2 separate regions of the Homo sapiens genome follow, and region 1 is linked to region 2. Evidence: promoter capture Hi-C in human tissues and cell types (Jung and others, 2019). All regions are on one chromosome and are shown on one strand. Each heading gives the region's core, a stretch centred on a gene start or on the middle of the fragment in contact. The rest is flanking DNA. Distances are from core to core; before and after follow the strand shown. Region 1 overlaps ZZEF1 (zinc finger ZZ-type and EF-hand domain containing 1). Region 2 holds the start of ITGAE (integrin subunit alpha E).

Region 1 (3,897 bases), core at 1-2,500, 240 kb before region 2:
CCTCCCGGGTTCAAGTGATTTCTCGTGCCTCAGCCTCCCAAGTAGCTGGGACTACAGGAATGTGCCACCACACCCAGCTAATTTTTATATTTTGAGTAGAGCCGGGGTTTCACCATGTTGGCCAGGCTGGTCTTGAACTCCTGGCCTCCAGTGATCCACCCACCTCGGCCTCCCAAAGTGCTGGAATGACAGGCGTGAGCCGCTGCGCCCGGCCTGTGTCTGGCTTCTTCTGCTCAACATTATGTTTGTGAGATGCATCCATGTTATTGTGATTAGTTTCCTTTATTCATTTTCACTGTTATCCAGAATTCCATTATATGAATATGCCATAATTTTAAAGTTCACGTTACTATTGTTAAGTGTTTCTAAACTGGAAATTACTCCAGACAATACTATGAGCACACCTGTCTGTGGCTTTTGATGAGCATCTGAATGCAGGCCAAACTTGGCCTGCCAAACAGTTTCTGCCGTTGTTTGTACCAGTTCACACTCCCTGCCAAACAGTTTCTGCAATGTTTGTACCGGTTCACACTCCCACGGCAGCACATGAAAGCTTTATTTGCTCCATATCCTCTCAAATTTAGAAATAATTACAAACTTATGTAAAAGTTAAAAGTACTATACAAATAATTTTATGCCTGAAAGTTGCCAAGTTCATGCCATATTACTTCTAAATATGTTAGTGTGTGTTTTCTACAAACAAGGAGATTCTCCTGTGTAACCAGACAGCAGTCATCAAAGTCAGAGAAATTAACATCAGTACATTGCTGCCATCTAATGCTTACTCCCTACTCAAGTTTCACTAGTTTGCTCCAAAAGTGTCTTTTATGGCAGGAGGATCAGAATTAATGTATAGGCCAGGCACAGTGCCTTGAATCTGTAATCCCAGCACTTTGGGAGACCAAGTAGGAGGGTTGCTTGAACCCAGGAGTTCGAGACCAGCCTGGGAAACATAGCAAGACTCTATCTACAAAAAAATAGAAAAATTAACCAGGCATGGTGGCACACACCTATAGTCTCAGCTACTTGGGAGGCTGAGGCAGGAGGATCACTCGAGCCCAGGAGGTCGAAGTCATAGGGAGCCAAGGTTGCACCTCTGCATTCCAGTTTGGGCAATAGGGTAAGACTCTGTCTCTTAAAAAAAGAAAAGAAAAAGAAAAAGAATGAACGTGTAGCAGTTTGTTGTCATGTCTTTTAATCACCTCTAGTCTTTAACAGTTATCAGTCTTTACTTTCGTGATCATGAGCTTTTGAAGATCACAGGCCACCTATTGTGTGGAATGTCCTCCTCTTTGGGGTTGGAGTTTATCAGATGTCTCCTCATAATTAGATTCAGGCTTTGCCTCTTGGGCAGGAAAATCACAGATGAGATGCTGCATTCTCATTGCAGCCTGTCAGGTGGAACACAGTTTTGACGTATTTCATTACTGATCATGTTTACTTTGATCACTGGATTAAGTGGTGTCCATTAGCCTTTTCTACCATAATCTTTCCACTTTTGTTATTAGTAAATATTTAGTGGGGAGAGTCTTTGAAACTATGTAAATATCCTGTTTCTCATCAAACAATTTATTTATTTAGTTAGTTATATCAGTATGGGTTCATGATTTCCTGTTTTACTCCATGAGCTATAATCCATTATTCTGATTACTTATTTTGACCAGTGGGAACCCATTCCCGCTGACTTCTGTGTCCTTTTGACATATCCCCATCATTTCAGCACTTCTTAAATTCTCCCTCCCCTAGCCCTAGAATCAGCCATTTCTCTAAGGTGACCTCATTCCTTTTGGTAGAGGATAGTATGTTGAAATGGCTTGAGCACTAGGTGGGTTCATTGCTAACAGGGTGTCACTGCTCCCCAGTCTTCCCAGTGCGGGCGGGCGGGGTGCGGGGAGAGAGAGAGAGAGAGAGAGAGAGAGTGTGTGTGTGTGTGTGTGTGTGTGTGTGTGTGTGTGTGTGTATTCTATATATTTATTTAGAGCAGTGATTCTCTTTTTTTTTTTTGAAGATGGAGTTTCCCTCTTGTCGCCCAGGCTGGTGTGCAGTGGTGCAATCTCTGCTCACTGCAACCTCCGCCTCCCGGTTCAAGTGATTCTCCTGCCTCAGCCTTCCTAGTAGCTGGGATTACAGGCACGTGCCACCACGCCTGGCTAATTTTTGTATTAGTAGAGATGAGGTTTCACCATGTTGGTCAGGCTGGTCTTGAACTCCTGACCTCAGGTGATCCACCCACCTCGGCCTCCCAAAGTGCTGGGATTACAGGCGTGAGCCACCGCGCCCGGCCTTAGAGCAGTGATTCTCAAACTGAAGGTATCCAATATGGCTATTTGACAGTGCCTTGAGACATTTTTGACTGTCACAACTCAGGGAATGCTCCTGGAATTCTAGCGGAGTCTACACTATAGGAATTGCTGGTAAACATTTTTAAATGCACAGGTGCCACTTACCCCACACACACATGAGAATTATCAGACCTAAATTTCAGTAGCACTGAGGTTGAGAAACCCTGATTTAAAGAATCCAGTCTTTAACGGTGAGAATCCTGGATCCCATCATCCTTCGTATAATTACCTACTGGATCAGTCTCACATCTCTGCTGCTGTTCTTCTTTTGAGGTGTCCTCCTTTCCTTGTTTCGACTCTTTTTTTTTTTTTTTTTGGACAGGCTGTAGTGCAGTGGTGCAATCTCGGCTCACTGCAACCTCTGCCTCCCCGGTTCAAGCGATTCTCCTGTCTCAGCCTCCTGAGTAGCTGGAATTACAGGCGCCAACCACTACACCCGGCTAATTTTTATATGTTTAGTAGGGACAGGGTTTCACCATGTTGGCCAGGCTGGCCTTGAACTCCTGACCTCAGGTAATCCCCCTGCCTTGGCCTCCCAAAGTGCTGGGATTACAGTGGACTCTTGACATGGATACCTCCCCACCACACTTGGGTCTGTCTCTCTAATCCAGGTTGCCCCCTTGCAGTGAGACGACCCTCACCCGCAACAGGCTGCTACTCAGTGGCAACACTCTCCTTATGCTGTTTGGACTCTGAGCCCCTGTGTGAGGGTGAACTCCCCGCGCAGATGCCCTCACCTCTCCACTTAGGTTCGGACACTCACATCAGGCTGCTCTTCTGCGTTTTTGCCCTCCTCACCTCACTCGGAGCCCAAGCTCCAACTCCAGAGGCCTGGGCATTCCTGGGCTTGGGTGACTTCCTCAGCCACCTGTGCTCTGACTCCTCTGCCAGACCTTCTCCATGGAAATTCCATACCCTGCTTGGGTTCTGACACCATGTGGCCTCCACCAGACCAACCCCCTGCCTAGATGCCTTCTGAGTTCTTGGACTGTGACACCCCTCCCAGGCTGCCATGTCAGAAAGACGCCTTCTTGAGAATCACTTTTTATTTCCAAGAACTTTTTGTTCTTTGATTGCTTTGTTTTCATACTATGGATATAGTGCCCTCTTGAGTCACACTGAGGATAACAACTCAGACATTGTAAAAGCTTTCTTCGGTTTTGTGCATTTTTTTCCTGTGGAAAATAACAAATGGTATAAGTATAGAAATGTTTGTACCAGGCCGTTTAGCTGAATGGTTTTTATAATAATGAAGAACTGGAAACAAAGTATTAATAAGTTGCAAGACACTATTTAAAGAAAGAAAAACAACTATTTAAAATTTTAAATTTATTTTACATATACATACATACACAAATATATATATATACACACACAGACATGTTGTTTGTTTTTTGAGACGGAGTCTCACTCTGTCACCCAGGCAGGAGTGCAGTTGGCATGACCATGGCTCACTGCAGCCTCCACCTCCTGGGCTCAAGCAATCCTCTCACCTCAGCCTCCCAAGTAGCTGGGACTACAGGCACGTACCACTATGCCTGGCTAATTTTTTGTA
Region 2 (4,001 bases), core at 1,132-3,631:
TTATTTGTATACATCATGCTCGTTTATCCGTAAGATGTTTTAGTGAACATTTCCCAAGAACAGGGACAGCCTCTCACATGCCCATGGTACAGTTCTCAAATTCAGGAAATGTGTAATATTCTCTGATCAGCCCAGGAGTTGCTAATTTGTAGTTCCTGTTTCAAATTTGCCAACTGTCCCAATAATGATTTTGAAAGCCGTTGTTTTTCTGGTCCAGGATCCAATCCAGGATCAAGCGCTGCCTTTAGTTGTCCTCTCTGCAGCCTCCTTTCGTTTGGAGCAGGTCCTCAGCCTTTCTGTCTTTCATGACATTGATGTTTGTGAAGAGTACAGTCCAGTTTCTGTTGTAGAACGTCCTTGAAGTTGGTCCCGGAATATTTGTTTAAAGTGAGTTGGGAAACCACATTCACATGTCTTTTGGTTATGTGTGTATTTGTCAAACAGCCAGCCTTGTGCTGCGTGCTGTGATGGGGAGCATTACTCAACAGAGCCTGGCCCTGACCTTGGGGATGTAGTTTGGGTTTGTGGGGAAAGCAGCTACCGCCAGGTGGGCTTTACGGACCCCTGTGTGTCTCATGACTAGAGGCACTGACGCTTGGATAAATACATACTGGATGGATGCAGGATGAGTCCGCATTCTAGAAGTGTGCAGAGGTACAGAAGTGGCCCTGCTCCCTGTCCAGCACCCAGTCATCAGCTTTCCCTGGCTTCCCGAGGCACCCTGACGTTCACACTCCAAACACAAAGTCTTCTCTCAGGAATCTCGAGTGAGCTGCAGTCTGGGTTCTAGCCCTGCCCTAGCAGGGATCTGCTCAGTGACTGGGCTGCTCTCTTCCTGCTTTAGGCCAATGCGGGGGAGAGGAGACCACTGTGACTCTCCCCAGTGCCCTTGGAGCGCAGAATGAAGTGAGGGGAGGAGGAGGGTCACGAGCCCTGGAGCGCTGGGAAGACAGGCTGTAGGCCGCAGGCCCCGATCCTGCCTGGGACGAGGTTCAACAGAAGTAGGATGGTTTCATCATGACCTGGCAGGAAAACCACCAGACCTGGAATTTTGCTTTTACAACTGTTTAACTTCTGTTTCATACAGGATGGAAACCGGTGAATTGTAATCTCACATAACCGAGCAAGATCTAGTAGTCATAAGCACTTTGTCAGAGCAAAGCAGACAAGGCAAAGTGTTGGAAATGTCATCGGATCTTCACAGAACCTTAGCCAAGCAGCCTTTCAATGCGAGAAACAAAATAACATGGATTTTTATCTAGTAATGAAGTCAACACCATTGTCCACCCTGGGTTAACACATTCACATCTCAAAGCGAATGGGGCTGCAGACACTCGTGTTAGAGAGCCTTGGAATGTCCTGCCTTTTTACGTTTAATTAAAATTAAATAAAATATACAAAATTCAGTTCATCAGTTGTTCTAGTGGCATTTTAAGGGTTTAGTACCATATGTGGCTCATGAGTACCATCCTGGACAGCGTCGACCTAGAGCAGTTCCATCCCCGCGCAGAGTTCTGTTTGACGGCGCCACTCTGCACTTCCAGCAGCCTGGGGAGCAGGGGTGCAGGAGAGTTCCTTCTGTGTCACAGACTTGGTCACACAGTACAGATCTCAGATCAGCACTTAAACACGACTGCCAGCTGTCAACGGCGTGTTCTGTGGAATGCTGGGATGCATCACAGGTATGCTGGAAGATGTATAGAATTTTACTTCTGTTATTCTGGTAACTCAGAGTCCTGTTCAGTCAGTTTCCACGTCAGGTTGCTGTCCTGGTTTTAAAGAGAATGAACGCAGCCGAAGTTGAATCGAGGCAGTGATTTCACTCAGTGCGTTGGGTCTTTCCACTCACCTGGCCCTCCAGAACCCCAGGGCCTTGAGTGCATGGGCTGGTACAAGAGCCCAGTTTTTGGCTGGGGAGGCACTTCCTATGGGAGGGGGACGCCTGTCTCAGTGCTGAGGCAACCACCACCGAGGACCCTGGGCTGGAAGCTGGGCTGAGATGTCTGGTGGTAGGTTCTGAGGCAGGACAGGGGACCGACTCAAATGGATGATACGAACGGCAGGCTGGATTCACGTTGCTCCTGCACCTCCAGCATCTGCTGAGGACACCTAGAACTGTGGCCCTGGCCAAACCTCAGCTCCCTATTCCATGAAAGTGTGGGTCAAAGTGTGGGTGGTAGAGTGGGGCTGACAGTGGCCCCTAAGCTCCTAGGGTCCAGCCCACAACTGAGGAAGCCACACGGCTGGTTGTGTACGAGCCGGAGTGTCTCTGTTTGGTTGAAAGTGCCGGTCTGTGGGTCCTTGCTGGTGTGTGTGCTTCTGTCCCCGCCTCCTGGCCTCCTGGCTGAGGGGAAGCTGAGTGGGCCACGGCCCATGTGTCGCACTCGCCTCGGCTCCCACACAGCCGCCTCTGCTCCAGCAAGGATGTGGCTCTTCCACACTCTGCTCTGCATAGCCAGTAAGTCCTCTCACCCGCTGCTTCGAGGGGCTGCTGTGCCCTCAGCTCCAGCCAGGTGTCTGCAGACTACAGCCTTGACTGTCTGTCTCTGATGGGGCTCAGTTAGAGCCAGAGGTTAGAGAGTGGCAGCTCCTCCAGGAAAGGAGTCTTGCTCGGTGGGTCAGGGCCCCAGGCTTGTTGGGAAGGGCGGCTGAGGCTTCGTGTTGCCAGTTCTGTCAGCCAGGGCCTTTGGACTCCAGGGCTCTGCCATTCTGTTCCTCCTCCAGCCAGCCTCCCCCCGCCACCGAGGCCCTCTCCCCATGGCACCCACTTGGGGCAGGTCCTTGACTCTGTAGTTTGTTCTCTGAGTGTGGAGGCTCCGCCTGGCAGAGCTCCCTTCTGTTACAGAGCAGGGGTTGGGCTGATGAGGGTGAGGACCCTGTGAGAGAGTGTTGACCAGAGACTGGGGGCAAGTGTCTGTATGGTAGAGGGTGTGAGTGTTGGCAGGGAGCCTGCTTCCTGTGTTGTCAGGCCCAGGGTAAAAACTGGAATGTGGGGTGGGGGGAGGCACTTCTGCTGCCTGGGGGGTCCCATTTTAGCCTTTAACTGTCCCATGGAAGCCTCTGGGCAAGCCAAGCCATGAGTCCTTTCGGGGGCCCCCTGTGATGAGACAGCACGGTCAGGTGAGCCCCTGGAGGCTGCTAAGATTAAGCCGGAGGCCAGGGTGGTCCTGCCTAGTGATCTGAGCAGACTTCCCATGGGTCTCCTGCCCCTGCTCAGGAGGTTGGCCGGAGAATTGGATGGGCATCAAGCTTATGTGGATGAAAGGCTCCTGGTAGCTGAGTTCTCCCTGAAAGATGGGCTGAGGCTGTGCTGGGAGGGGACTTGGGATTAGCATCCCACCTGGGGCCAGATCACCCAGGAAGCAGGCCACAATGTGTAGGGTACCAGCAAGGAACACGTTTTTGGACAGATTTTAATATTTTATATTTCATTTTATTTTATTTTATTTTTTGAGACAGAGTCTTGCTCTGCTGCCCAGGCTGGAGCCCAGGCTGGATCTTGGCTCACCATAACTTCTGCCTCCCAGGTTCAAGCAGTTCTCCTGCCTCAGCCTCCCGAGTAGCTGGGATTACAGGCGCCTGCCACCACGCCTGGCTAATTTTTGTATTTTTAGTAGAGACAGGGTCTCACCATATTGGTCAGGCTGGTCTCCTGCCCTCAGGTGATCGACCTGCCTCGGCCTCCCAAAGTGTTGGGACTACAGGCATGAGCCACCTTGCCCGGCCTAATATTTTATATTTCAAAAACATCAGAATAGTCACCATGGAAAGGTCAACAGTTTGTTGAACTTCCTTTTATTTTACAATTTAGACTTCTCTGTTTTTAGTTACATGTGGGGTGTGGAGAGAGTCTCACTCTTTTTATGGCTTGTGGCTTTGATCTCCCATTACCAAGAATATCTGGAGCAGATGCTTAGACTAGACTCTTGTCTACCCTCTCCCAGTACAGAGGAGGTGACTGGGGCACAGAGCGGGCAGTGACTACCCAGGCTTGCAAGCAA

The links. The method cuts DNA at HindIII sites, captures the fragments that hold promoters and counts their contacts. A contact is called where the count stands out against the background at its distance.
Region 1: a fragment that was not itself captured here is called in contact with the fragment with the promoter of ITGAE in region 2 in 3 of the 25 tissues and cell types used here (mesendoderm cells, small bowel and thymus).

Annotation. Positions count from the first base shown.
Region 1 is chr17:4,034,840-4,038,736 of GRCh38, reverse strand. The region is part of intron 39 of ZZEF1 (zinc finger ZZ-type and EF-hand domain containing 1); the gene reads left to right. Among named protein-coding and RNA genes, the nearest start is that of LINC01975, 60 kb to the right of the region's middle. The HindIII fragment of the contact is 7,006 bases long and covers 1-3,897 here.
Region 2 is chr17:3,799,568-3,803,568 of GRCh38, reverse strand. It overlaps ITGAE (integrin subunit alpha E), which reads left to right and starts at 2,381. Exons shown (of 31, transcript NM_002208.5): 1 at 2,381-2,458. The coding sequence starts at 2,425. It overlaps NCBP3 (nuclear cap binding subunit 3), which reads left to right. Exons shown (of 13, transcript NM_001114118.3): 13 at 1-1,411. The HindIII fragment of the contact is 9,203 bases long and covers 1-4,001 here.